4 separate regions of the Homo sapiens genome follow, and all the other regions are linked to region 3. Evidence: promoter capture Hi-C in 16 types of primary human blood cells and fetal thymus (Javierre and others, 2016). All regions are on one chromosome and are shown on one strand. The core of a region is centred on a gene start or on the middle of the fragment in contact, and the rest is flanking DNA. Distances in the headings are between cores, read along the strand shown. Region 1 has its middle 2.8 kb from the start of PPP1R15B. Region 2 has its middle 8.6 kb from the start of LINC00628. Region 3 holds the start of SNRPE (small nuclear ribonucleoprotein polypeptide E). Region 4 overlaps MDM4 (MDM4 regulator of p53).

What was found. Contacts are between HindIII fragments. The CHiCAGO score rates a contact against its expected background, and 5 or more counts as called.
Region 1: a fragment that was not itself captured here is called in contact with the fragment with the promoter of SNRPE in region 3 in 1 of 17 cell types (non-activated CD4 T cells); the score reaches 6.6 in non-activated CD4 T cells.
Region 2: a fragment that was not itself captured here is called in contact with the fragment with the promoter of SNRPE in region 3 in 1 of 17 cell types (naive CD8 T cells); the score reaches 5.0 in naive CD8 T cells.
Region 4: a contact is called between a fragment that was not itself captured here and the fragment with the promoter of SNRPE in region 3, in 2 of 17 cell types (megakaryocytes and erythroblasts). The highest score is 6.4, in megakaryocytes.

What each region holds. Positions count from the first base shown.
Region 1 is chr1:204,413,046-204,416,207 of GRCh38, reverse strand. No RefSeq gene overlaps it. Among named protein-coding and RNA genes, the nearest start is that of PPP1R15B, 2.8 kb to the right of the region's middle. The HindIII fragment of the contact is 510 bases long and covers 1,278-1,787 here.
Region 2 is chr1:204,376,604-204,379,970 of GRCh38, reverse strand. It overlaps a transcript of PLEKHA6 not described here. Among named protein-coding and RNA genes, the nearest start is that of LINC00628, 8.6 kb to the right of the region's middle. The HindIII fragment of the contact is 4,972 bases long and covers 1-3,367 here.
Region 3 is chr1:203,860,261-203,863,508 of GRCh38, reverse strand. SNRPE (small nuclear ribonucleoprotein polypeptide E) reads right to left here and starts at 1,910. Exons shown (of 5, transcript NM_003094.4): 1 at 1,796-1,910; 2 at 1,287-1,313. The coding sequence starts at 1,849. RefSeq lists enhancers at 805-1,380, 1,766-2,025, 1,834-2,128. The HindIII fragment of the contact is 9,598 bases long and covers 1-3,248 here.
Region 4 is chr1:204,540,811-204,544,258 of GRCh38, reverse strand. It overlaps MDM4 (MDM4 regulator of p53), which reads right to left. Exons shown (of 11, transcript NM_002393.5): 8 at 1,315-1,475. Among named protein-coding and RNA genes, the nearest start is that of LRRN2-AS1, 22 kb to the left of the region's middle. The HindIII fragment of the contact is 4,009 bases long and covers 1-3,301 here.

The DNA.
Region 1 (3,162 bases), core at 283-2,782, 550 kb before region 3:
GAGTGGAATGCAAGAGGCTTGGTCTTAAGGAAGACGACATTATTTTAAAGTATTATTACTCTTCCATTCATTCAACAAACATTTATTGGGTACCTATTATGTACCAGTCAACATACTACCTCAGTGGTTCTTAAACTTTTTGGCCTCAGGAAAAAGTTTATACTCTTAAAAAGTATTGAGGGCCCCAGCCAGGTGTGCTGGCTCATGTCTGTAATCCCTGCACTTTGGGAGGCTGAGGCAGGCAAATTGCTTGAGCTCAGGAGTTTGAGACCAGCCTGGGCCACATGGCAAAACCTCATCTCTACTAAAAAGAAAAAAAACCCCAACTTGGGCAACCTGGTGAAACAGTCTCCACTAAAAAAATATAAAAATTGGCCGGGCATGGTGGTGGGTGCCTGTAATCCCAGCTACTTGGGAGGCTGAGGCAGAAGAATCGCTTGAACCTGGGAGGTGGAGGTTGCAGTGAGCTGAGATTACACCACTGCACTCCAGCATAGGCAACAGAGCAAGACTCCATCTCAAAAATGTAATAATAAAATGAAAAAAAAAAAACAACAGGTGTGGTGGTACACACCTGCTATGCCAACAACTTGGGAGGCTGAGGTGGGAGGACTGCTTAAGCCTGGGAGATCAAGGGTGCAGTGAGCCGTGACTGCACCACTGCACTCCAGCCTGGGCAATACAGCAAGATCCTGTCTCAAAAAAAAATTACTAAGGACCCCAAATAACTATCTTTATACCTTTATGTGGTTTATAGCTATCAATATTTCCTATTTATGAATTCAAGACCGAGGAACTGAAAAATGTTCATTTAGGCTGGGTGTGGTGGTGTGCACCTGTCGTTCCAGCTACTTGGGAGGCTGAAGCAGGAGGATTGCTTGAGCCCAGGAGTTCAAGGCCATAGTGTGCTGTGATTGCCCCTGTGAATACGCACTGCACTCCAGCCTGGGCAACATATGAAACTCTGTCTTTAATGAAAAATACAATAAAATTTTAAAATTCATTTAAAAATAACCAATTACATGTTAATTTTTTTTTTTTTTTTGAGGCAGGATCTCACTCTGTTGCCCAGGATGGAGTGCAGTGGCACAATCTTGGCTCACTGCAACCTCTGCCTCCCAGGCTTGAGCAATCCTCCCACCTCAGCCTCCTGAGTAGCTGGGACCACAGGCGTGCACCGTCATGCCTGGCTAATTTTTGTATGTTTTGTAGAGACAGGGTTTTGCCATGTTGCCCAGGCTGGTAATGTTCAATTATTTTTCAAAACATAAAAAGCTTAGTGAGAAAAGTGGCATTGTCTTACATTTTTTCCAAATGTCTTTAGTATCTGGCTTAATATAAAACAGCTAGAATCTCGTATCTATCTGCTTTTGCATTCATTCTGTTGACAGTTCACACACCATGTATCTTCCAGAAGACTTCACTGTACATACATGAGAAAATGAGAGTTAAAAAAGCTGAGAATTATTATGGAAATATTTTTGGCCTTAAGGACCCTCTGAAAGGGTTTCAAAGGAGGATCCCCAGGGGTGCCCAGACCATACTTTGGGAACCACTTTTCTAGATAGTTGGATACAGCCCTCAAGGAATTCAGGGACCAGCAAGAGAGAATACTTACAGGTATATGTAATGCAATGTGTTAAGTGCTCTAATAGAGCGGAATAATATAAGTACTGTGAGGGATCCATTAATTCTGGCTGGAAAGGTCAATGAAGGCTTCAAGGAGAAGCTGACATTTGAATTGGATCTTGAAGGATGAGTAGGTATGTAACAGGAAAGGTGAAGCTTTTCTTGGCTGAGAAACAGCATGAGTAAAGGCAGGAAGCAAGGAGTACAGGTAAGTCCAATGTTCCTAGAATATAACATGCATGAAGACAAGTGACAGAGGAGGCTGGAAGAGTACAGTGGGAGGGCAGGCTGCATAGAGCCTTTATTCTGCAGGCAATGAGGAAACAACTGAAGACTGTAAAGCAGAACCACACAAGAATATTAGCTAATCTTTGTGCTCCTACTCTGTCTAGGCTAGGCACTGAGAAAACTTAGTTTTCTTACCAATCCATTGAAAGAGGAATTACTAGCCTCACTTTACAAGAAACAGGCTTCTGGTAACAAATTTGCCTACTTGGATCTGTATTATGAAACTGACCTCTATTATTAATACATTTTTCTGAAGTTCATAGGATTGAGATTTTCCAGAGGTATGGATAATAATACAGGATAAACAACAGAAACTGAGGTCCTCTTGGCTTCCTAGAAAGAAGTGGTTGTGCCGAACGTGGTGGCTCACGCCTGTAATCCCAGCACTTTGGGAGGCTGAGGCGGGCAGATCACAAGGTCAGGAAATTGAGACCATCCTGGCTAACATGGTGAAACTCCGTCTCTACTAAAAATACAAAAATTAGCCGGGCGTGGTGGCATGTGCCTGTAGTCCTAGCTACTAGGGAGGCTGAGGCAGGATAATAGTTTGAACCCAGGAAGGCGGAGGTTGCAGTGAGCAGAGATCACACCACTGCACTATATCCTGGGCAACAGAGCGAGACTCGTCTCAAAAAAGAAAAAAAGAAGTGGTTGTTCCTTGAACAGGCCCAGTAAGGCAGGAGGAGCTGCTGGTCTCCTCCCAGCTCCCTAAAGATTTTTCTGCTGTCCCTAGTGCTCATAACTGCCACCCTCCCTCTGTAATTGGTACTTGACTTCAGGGGTATCTATTACAGAGTTTTAGCAGAAATAAAGAAATGAACTAAGACCAAACTCACAAGAGATAATCAAATACAGCAATTAAAATTACCAGCCATTTTTTTTTTCAAAGGATAGTGGTCCATGTTTCCTTTTTGGCTGTTGTATTCTGTGGTTCTGGTTGCTAAGGAAGTATTAATAAATATGAATTGAATATGTTGCCTGCTTGGAAGCATAAAAGAGAGTAAATAGTTCTGGGGACTGAGCTGCTTCTCTGTGAGTTTAGTTTGCCCCACACCAGACATGTATGTACGCAGCACTGCCCAACTTTTACATAAGATCTCAGGTTGATGGTCTACATAGTACTGAACAATAGGAGAACCCTGAAATATCTGTCAGGCTGGGCGCAGTGGCTCACGCCTGTAACCCCAGCACTTTAGGAGGCCGAGGCGGGCAGATCACTTGAGCTGAGTTTGAAACCAACCTGGG
Region 2 (3,367 bases), core at 838-3,337, 520 kb before region 3:
CCCAGGAAGATCTCCCCACACACACCCTGATGTTGCTGATGGTTATATTGAGAGTGCCTCTAAATAAAGTCCAAAAGTACGGGATTGTGGTTAGAGTTAAGAGTAGTTCTCAGTTATGACCATATCAAGCATTCATCAAATGTTAATTGGTCTGGGCGCAGTGGCTCATGCCTGTTATACCAGCACTTTGGGAAACTGAGGCCGGTGGATCAGATCACTTTAGGTCAGGAATTTGAGACCAGTCTGGCCAACATGGTGAAACCCCGTCTCTACTGAAAATACAAAAAAAATTAGCCAGGCATGGTAGTGAGTGCCTGCAGCCCCAGCTACTCAGGAGGCTGAGGTGAGAGGATCACTTGAACTTGGGAGGTGGAGGTTGCAGTGAGCCGAGATCATGCCACTGCACTCCAGCCTGGGTGATAGAGCGAGACTCCATCTCAAAAAAAAAAAAAAAAAATTGTTAATTGGTGCCGCAGGCAGCTGCCAGGGCTGTAAAGATGGATAAGATGGAGTTCCTGCCCCAAGGAGCACACAGTCCAATGGAGGAGACAGATGACTAAATCAAGGATTGCATTACAGTGTGATAAGTGCTACTATAGGGTTATTCATCAGGTGCCATGACACATGGAGGATGGACATATAAATCTCTCCGGGGTAGTGTCAGGAATGGCTTCCTGGAGGAGGTGGCACATGGGTAGACACTGAAAGGATGAGTAGGAATTACCTATGTGGAATGGGGATCAAGTCTCCTGGAATGCTCACAAAACGTATGTTTGCCCAACAGATAATTGCCAGCTGTCATGGAACACATTGCTCCCTTTAAACACAGGTGTCTCTCTCATCGTCTAATTATTCTCCTGGGCCTGGCACATGGATTGGAACTGTATGTACCTAACTGGAGCCCCAGTGGCAGATCCGGAGTAAGCTGGGAAAGCCAAATGGACTTCAGCATTTTTTCTTTCTTGAGACAGGGTCTCGCTCTGTTGCCCAGGCTGGAGTACACTGGCAGGATCATAGGTCACCGCAGCCTCGACCTCCCGGCTCAAAGTGATCCTCCTGACAGTGTTCTGAGTTGCTGGGACTACAGGCTCGTGCCACCAGATCCAGCTAATTAATTATTATTATTATTTGTAGTGACAGGGTCTTGCTATGTTGCCTAAGCTGGCTAACTTTGATATAGACCCTGAGATAGCAGAACTGTGGGCTCCAGCAATACTGCTTTTGGTATGCCAGTATGAAATGCTTGCAGTCTGCATTCTGTACACATAACACATTCCCTTCTCTCTCCATTTTTCTTCCTTTTTCCTTTTCCATTTCTGGTGCAAGTTAGGGGGAATGGAATGGAGGGACATAAACGCTGTTGGTTTCTGAGTATTTCTAAGGTCTCCCTGTGATTCTACTTAGTCATGGCAGACTTCTTGGAGGAGGTGCTGGGAAAGAAAGGTAAGGACTAGCTCGACTAATCAGGCTGGCATCTGAGCTAGGAGAGGCTCCCCGGGCCCCTCGCTGCTCACAGCCCCGCCACGCTTCCGTGCCTTTGACCTTTGTTCCTCTCCTAACCTCCCACCAAGTAGAACCAGGTTTAATCACTTCCCCTTTTCCGTTCAGTGGCTGGACATGTCCACCAGGTTCCTGATTCAAAGCTCTTTTAGTCAAACTGGTTCTCTGCGCGGTGCGCCTGGACTGGGGGACTTGGCGCTGCCGGCGAGTTCTCGGGGCTGTGAATTACCTTCCGAGGCGGCGGCGCGGCTCCGCCCCCGGCCCCGCCGGTGGTTCAAGTGCAAGATCGGAGCTGGGAGCGGAGAGGCAACACCCCTGCTCGCACTGCAACCTGCTCCCTTCGGGGAGGGATCCTCCCCGCTCCAGCTTCTGCTCTCCGGGCTCCGCCAGGCTGGAGGGCAGCAGAGCCAGGAGGAACGGAGACCCAGCGCTGCCCGTTAACAGTCCCGGCAGGAGAGGCATCGTAATTACTCACCGCGCTAATTGCCCGTCATTAAAGTTCAGGAAACGGTCCGAAGAGGAGCTCCCGAGTCGACGAGGAGGCAGGTGGTGTCTGGGGCTCCCGGCCGGCCAGGGTTAAGCGCTTGCCTGCTCCCTGCCGCCCGGCTTGAGGCCAGCGCGTCTTCAGTGGGGAGGCCAGCCACACTGCCAGGGACCCGGGAGCGACGCCGCCAGCCCGGCCGGACCCCCTCCCCCACCACGGCCTCTGGAAGGGGGCAGCAAGTGGGGGTTCCCGGGTACCAAGCCCCCTGCCCAGCCGGCGCCTGGGGGCGCAGAGAGCGAGAGGGGCTGCAGGGACACCGAGATGGCCGATGAGATTGACTGGCTGGACCTGCCCGGCCGGTGGGCCTACGGAGTTGACGGCGGTGGGAGAATCTTCTTCATCAAGTATGTTGGTCTCGCTCTTCTTTTTATTTCATTTTTTTCCATTAAGTTGCCCAACTTGAAAAGTGGCGGGGCTGGGGGCAGGCCGGAGAAGGTGGGTGAAGCGGTGGCTACAAGGGCGGGCATGACTAATAAGTTTATCACCATGCCTGTTTGAATGTGTCTCCCGCCTTTTCCTCAATGGGTCAAAGTCCAGCAAAGGCTTGGCATTCCCTCAGCTTGGAAAGGCTGGGCAGGGCAGGGGAGTGCTGCCCTTTCTCCCTCTCCCTGGTCACATGCGAGGCCTCCAGGAGGATGACTAGACCAATGCCCAGCCTGGAGTTTTTTCAGCTCCTTCCCTGAAAGGGCCAGAGGTAGGTCTTTCATTTTCCCCGAGACTTTCCTATGGGAAGACTTGGGCTAAGTGACAACATACCAGGAGATCCTGCCTCTACCACTCAGTTCCTGGCAACCCTCGCCCCAGACTCAGCGTGCCCAGGACAGCAGTTCTCCTCTCCTGTCCTGCTTCTTTATGGGGCTGTGGTCAAGAGGGAGGGGGACGATGCCCACTGTATGTTTGGCATTCTTGAGAGAGAGCGCGCCTTTGCTACTCTCAGTAATATATTAGCACTGTTATATTAATTTCATAAGCCAAAGTGGCTCTGGCATAATCTCATTATAACAAAGTGGCCCTGCTGGCTGTCTTTTGGCTCGCTTCTACTATAGTCATCTTTTGCCAGGATAGACATCTTCCAGAAATATAGCAAGTCTAGAAGCACAGCGTCTTGGACTGTTACCCACACTTGACGAGCTTTTCCTTCCTCAAGATAGCCACTTAAAAACATCGGAGCTACAAGGAATCTTAGAAACAACCCCTTCATTTGTCAAATGGGGAACTGAGGTCCAGAGATATTGAAGTACCGGTCTAAGAGAAAACCACGTGTTAATCAGAGCTGGGACTCAGCCCCGCATCTGCTGACTTAGTGCACTGCTTCCCCAGGTA
Region 3 (3,248 bases), core at 661-3,160:
TCTCTACTAAAAATACAAAAAAAATTAGCTGGGCGTGGTGGCGCACGCCTGTAGTCCCAGCTACTCGGGACGCTGAAGCAGGAGAATCGCTTGAACCCGGGAGGCAGAGGTTGCAGTGAGCTGAGATCGCGCCACTGCACTCCAGCCTGGGCACAGTGAGACTCCGTCTCAAAAAAAAGAAAAGAAAAACAGGCCAGGTGCCTCGATTCACACCGTTCCCATACTTTGGGATGCCAAAGCGGAATAATTCGCTTTGTGGCCAGGTGTTCAATATAAGCCTGCGCAACATTAAGCAAGATCTCCCCGCCCCCCGCCCCCCAAAAAATTGAAGTATACAAAACCTAACCATTTTGGTCAAACGACAAGAGAAATATGGCTCCTAAAAAAATTGTAATGAATGTAAGTCAAAAGTTTTAACTAATTAGCCCATATCTAAGAATTATTCACCAATAATAATAACCTCAAAAAGAATTTTCATTTAATAAGTTCTATATTGGAACTGTATAAGCTAATAATTTTCCTGTGATTTTGGGACTCAATATTTCTTACTGCTTCTGGTCTCAATCTATTAAGAGTGAAAGTTTTTGACAGCATAGCACAAAGCAGTAATTTCTAATGACCAAGGGCTTATCTCCTGCAGCAAAATCCAGTTCCAAAACAAAGCCTTCTCATGTCACACACCTAACAACTAGGACAGGAGCCCTCAATTCAGGTGGTTAAGAATTATTATCACCTGAAATTAATGTTTTTCAGTTGTGTTATCACACTATAAAATTTAAGTTGCTAAAATTTCCCTCAAAGGAAAGCAGCTGCCACTAAACTCCTCTGAAGCTACCCCTTCTCTCTTCCTTTTTTCGTCTTTAAGTTTTCCCACAGGTATTAAACACACCACCTCTTGACATGGTTTAAGTTGGCTGGGTTTTTCTTCCAATGTTTCATCCTAAAGGGGAGAGGTTCCAATGTTCTAGCCATAATCACTACTAACAAAACTACTGATGCCCAAATACCATGGTCAAGTCTGCTAATAATACTTTTTGGAATTAAAAAGTATTTTTGATCTTGCAAAGTAATGGATACAATTCTTTGCATGTTGGGAAGTGGCATGGATACACACCACTTCATCACATTAGTGCTTTCTAAGTACTCCTTCCCCTCAATTACCCTCCAATCTCCAGTTACATCTATTTTTAAATTCTAGAACACAGCGATCGCTCAGGTTAACACAAAAAACTAAATCAGTTCACCTCTTATTTAAAAAGTAGTTACGAAACAAGCAACTTACGTACATTTTGTAAGTATCTGAAGATGAGGTTCTGCACCACAGTGGCTAAGGAAAAAATACAAAAGCAGCATAGACTCTGCTTCCTGAAACAACCGGACGACGCTATTCCCGTCTCACCTTTGTTTACTAAACGCGAGGTCTGGTGCTTACGCAAACAACAAGTGCCCAGCTGGGCATTCGTTACGGGTCTTCTAAAGACTAAAGAACATCCATTCCACTTTCATCCCCCTGGAGTTTCCCAAAACCGTTAACTCCCGTTTTCACTCCGCACCTGAAGTTCTCTTCCCTCCTTTTGCCGCGTCCATTCCTGCATTCCCCACGGCAGGGGTCCCCCCAAGACCACCTCCCCACCATCACGGTTCAACTACCCGCGCTTTCTTCCAGTCTTGGTAGCCCCGGGGGCTCATGGGATGTGGATCCGTACTCCACTATCCCAGGCCTGCCCTCAGCCTGCGCCTTCGCACCCCGTATTCTGACCCGAACCTCCTAGTCCTGACATCCTGCGTAGGATACGATGGGCTGCACCATAACCTTCTGCACTTTCTGACCCTGGCCACGGTACGCCATGGTGGAATTTCACAAAGAGCACACCCGCACGCTGCCTCTGAGAGCAACTTCCGGAATAAAGAACCGGAAGCGGAAGTGTGAAGGTCACGCGGCGGCATGGGCGGCTCCTGGGAAATGCCCCTCTAGCCATGAAGTCACGTTTCTTCGCTGCATGGCCTCCGAGGGAGGCCAAACTGAGGCGTCTGCGCTGTGGAAGGTGGGCCGGTCCTACAGCGCCACCTGGAGGGAGGCGGGAGGAGGTGCCTTCGGTTGTATAGTGGCCGTGGTAGGAGGAGTGCCGTCCTGTCTCCAATTTCTTTTCTTTTTTTTTTTTTGAGGCGAAGTCTCGCTCTGTCGCCCAGGCTGGAGTGCAGTGGCGCGATTTCAGCTCACTGCAACCTCAGCCTCCAGGGTTCAAGCGATTCTCCTGCCTCAGCCTCCCGAGTAGCTGGGACTACAGGCGCCTGCCACCACGTCCGACTAATTTTTTGTGTTTTTAGTAGAGACGGGGTTTCACCATGTTGGCCAGGATGGTCTCGATCTCCTGACCTCATGATCCGCCCGCCTCGGCCTCCCAAAGTGCTGGGATTACAGGCGTAAGCCACCGCGCCCGGCCTGTATCTCCATTTTCTGAGTTAGCTTGAAAAGCCAAAATCGTCCCAGTGTGTATCTCTATGTGTAAAATGAGTTAATTTCGTGCCTTTCCTAAAGCCTATTTTGCTGGAGTTTAGGCTTGATAGCAGCGTTGTGGTGGAAAGGGTAGGGCGGCAAGGAGCCCAAACTTCAGGCCTCCCACCTCTGGCAGTCGGCCAGAGGCGGTCTGCATTCCAAAGCCAGACGCCTGGTTCCCTCCAGTTACGGATTCAATTCTCATCCATTTCGTGGAGAGTTACTGTTCAGGTGGCAACTGAGGGTGGCGATTTACCAGGAAGACGCTGAAATCCACATGCTGGGCGCAAATCCAGCTCTTTTAGAGTTGGTGACCAAGGATAAATTACTCAGCCTCGCCATGTCTTGGCTTAGTTTCCAAAACGGAGATTATAGTAAAGATTAACTTTACTCAGGGGCTTAAAGATTCAATGAAATAATTGTCTATGTGTGCACACAGTTAGGCGTCAGCCAGTGTCAGAACATGTCCTTCCCTGGATAACACAGCTACTAAGTGGAGCAGCTGGAATTTGTAGGTGTGCCTGACCCCAAAGTCCACCTACCTTTCCATTGTGTCATGGCTTGTGGCCTGGCAGAGATTTCACTTAATTGGCATACACATGTTATAGAGGAGGAAACTGAAGTTTAGACTTTTGAAAGGACTTGCCTAAGGGAACACGGATTAGGGCAAATGGCAGAATCAAAATTAGCTTTTCTGAGGGCTTCTGTTTAATGGGGATAATAGTAATAACGACTTCAGAAAGGGGTTGAG
Region 4 (3,448 bases), core at 48-2,547, 680 kb before region 3:
GTAAGGACTTGTAGTTGCTCAAGTAAATAGAATCTATTCCCTAAATTCCCTTCTACAGGTGACACTCTAAGAAGCTACAAAACATTCCATTAGTTCTGACATATTCTTTCCCTTAAAATGGTCAAGGATGTTTATTAAAGAAATATGAGAAATACTGATGGTCACCCAAACCTTTTGTCCTGACACTTTCTGAACTCCATATAGAACTAACCTTCTGCATTCATCTATGAATATTTCATGACATGCTTTTCTACAACATTCATGAGAGACAATTTATTATTTTGCACACTATTAAATACTCATCCATTTATTAAACAAATACTCACTGAATACCTATTATGTGCCACATACTGTTCTAGGTACCAGGTAATGGAAAAAGTAGTGAATAATACAAAAGCCCTGGCCTTACATTTCAGTGGTAAACAGACAACACATACATAAAATATAGCAATATTTTTACAAAGTGAGAAGTACTATGGAGAATAAAATAGGATAAAAGAGAAGAGTGGCTAGAGAGGAGGCTATTTTAACTAGGGATGGGTTTGGCAGGGCCACCACCTATAGCTACACAGCTCCAAAACAAAAAGCGAATGGATCCTACTGGAACTGTGTAACATAATAGCCTTTGTGGCCAGGGATGACCTCTTTGAAGAAATTACATTTGAGGTGAGTCCTAAATCATGAGAAGGCAAAGAAAGAATGTGGGGGAACAGTGTTCCAGAAAGAGTAAAGAACAAACTTAAGGTGCCTGAGGAAGGCAGCAATTTTGGGCTACAGTGTCAGAAAGGAGCCTAGTATATCCAAAACGCATGTAGTGAACAAAGAAGAATGACAGGAAGTGAGGAAGGAGGGGGCTGAATCAGTTATTACTATAGTAAAACAGGCGCACGCCACCACGCCTGGCTAATTTTTAATTTTTTGTAAAAATGGTGTCTATGTTGCCTAGGCTGGTCTCAAACTCCTGGGCTCAAGCAATCCTCCTGTCTCGGCCTCCCAGTGTTATAGGCTGGGACTCCCAGAGATTACAGGCATGAGCCACTACGCACAGCCAAAGGCTCCATTTTGAAATTGTTCAATGTCAAATCCTCTAAGTAGAGTTGTTAGTTAAATAGGCATCTGGAAACTGAAGTTGGGCATTTAGGGAAGAGGTAAGGACTAGAGATACAGATTTGGGTATCACATGCATACAGATGGTATTTAACGCCATAGGAGTAAATAAGAATTCTTAGAGAATATAATGTGTGGTCAAGAGTAACCAAGAATGTTACCCTTTCAAAAGAAAAAAAACCACTTCCCTTCAAATGTGAAATTTACCTGATTTGTCTGTAAATCAGTTGAGCCATTACTTCTAGGTGTATAGTTGCTTCTCAAGTTTCCTAAAAACCACCAAGGCAGGCCAGCTACATCCCACTCCTCAAATCCAAGGTCCAGCCTAGATGTTTCATCTTGGGCTAAATTTTCAATTAAGTCTTCATCTATAGAAGTCAAATGAAAAGAATGATAACTATGCACAATACGTAATAACTAAGACTATCTTTAGAATACTTAAAACTTCTTTATAAAATAGGTAAAAAGAAATTCCTGTTCTAAGAAAGAAAGAACCAGAAATCAAGTATCTGTCTTAGTGGCAGAGCTCAAATCTCCTCCCTTGTTTAGACTTCATTAGCAAGTAATGACACTACAAACAGATCATCGTTTATCAAGTTTAAACTCTAAAAGCATTGTCTTCTATGAGAAGACAGGAAAAAAAAAAGACTCTAAAAGCATCTGAACAATGACCTTGTGCTAAAAGAATTTCTAAATGGGCATTTACTGGTATTTTAAACACTCCTACCATGTATAAACTATAGAATTACTTGCTCTAGTACATAGTGCCTGATAATAGTTTGATTAACAGCATTGCAAATGATGGTAACATAGTGGTCTAACCCTTAAGATCAAAGCAAGGCAATACAAACCATAATAGGTGATCACAAGGTTGTCCAGGCAATCTCACTGGTACCACATATTCTGGGTCAATTCTCAATAATTCGTATGTTTTAGTAGGTAACAACCACTATAAAACACTAAACTCTAGGTTGTCCAAATACATACATATGCCCTCGCTGGATCAATGGGCTCTTAGAGTTAAGTATCTAGACATACCACAAATACTAAGACCCCACGTTATTTCAAGTAAAAGATCTCACATTGTACATTTGAATGACACTGAGGGCAGCTAATTAACATAAGTCTGTTGTTATCACATGATACTCTTTTCTTTCCCATACTCCAGTCTTTTGTTGGGCTCTACTGCTCCTTTCTTACTTTCTCATTCTCTTCTACCTCCTCCCAATACATTAGGCCTGCCCATAGCAACCATGGGGTTAACGTGTGCTGAAGTACATATGGTGAAAGAATTTCTGCAATACATGGGTCCTTGCCAGAACATAAGGTTACCCTATTTACTTATAAATTATGTCAATATTGCTGACTAAAAGGCTTATCTGTGGCCAGGGAAACTTCAATTATGTTTCCACTTATTCATTATTGAAACTATCAGAAGCCAAATTCTTGAAATGGTGCCATATTAAAGTTATTCTTCCCTACTCGAGCTCTACAACTTATGAAGGAAATGAAAATAGGTCATTCTTTCCACAAATAAAAATTCTGTCCCTTCTACCTATAGGTCTTCCTGAAAATACTATTATTTATTCCCAAATTTTCATCACAAACTACATATCCCCCCTTGAGTTGGCTATTCTTAAATACCTGCCCTTGCCCCCAACTTTTTTTTGAGACAGGGCACCACTTTGTTGCCCAGGCTGGAGTGCAGTGACATGATATTGATTCACTGCAACCTCCGCTCACTGCAATCTCCACCTCTTGGGCTCAAGTGATCCTTCCATCTCAGCCTCCTGAGTAGCTGGGACGACTGGTGCGCACCATCATGCCCAGCTAATTTTCTACTGGGCTGATTTTTTGTAGAGACGAGGTCTCGCTATGTTACCCAAGCTGGTCTCGAACTCTTGAGCTCAAGTAATGCCCCTGCCTCAGCCTCCCAAAGTGCTGGGATTACAGGCACGAGCTACCATGCCCAGCCTTGATTTTCTAACAGTGCCCAGCCATGTTCTTATATATCTTAAAATTGCCTTTTGAGTACAAAATAAGCAAGGATTTGCATTAAGGAATAAAATTACACATTTAATATCATATAGACTGGAATAGTTACAAAGTAACTAGGTAGACCAAAATTCAGTTTATGCTCAAATGCAATGTAAAGAAAACAATCCAGCATGATAAACTTATTCAAATTTAAGCTTTTAAAATAACTTCAGCAGCCAAAGTTTCTCAGACATAACTAGAGGCTTAACCTGCCATTGGTCCACATGCCTAGACTAGAAGCCATCATGCCATAAAATGACTTTGGGGAATTTATGATTTTACACATCTTCGCCAACACAAAAAC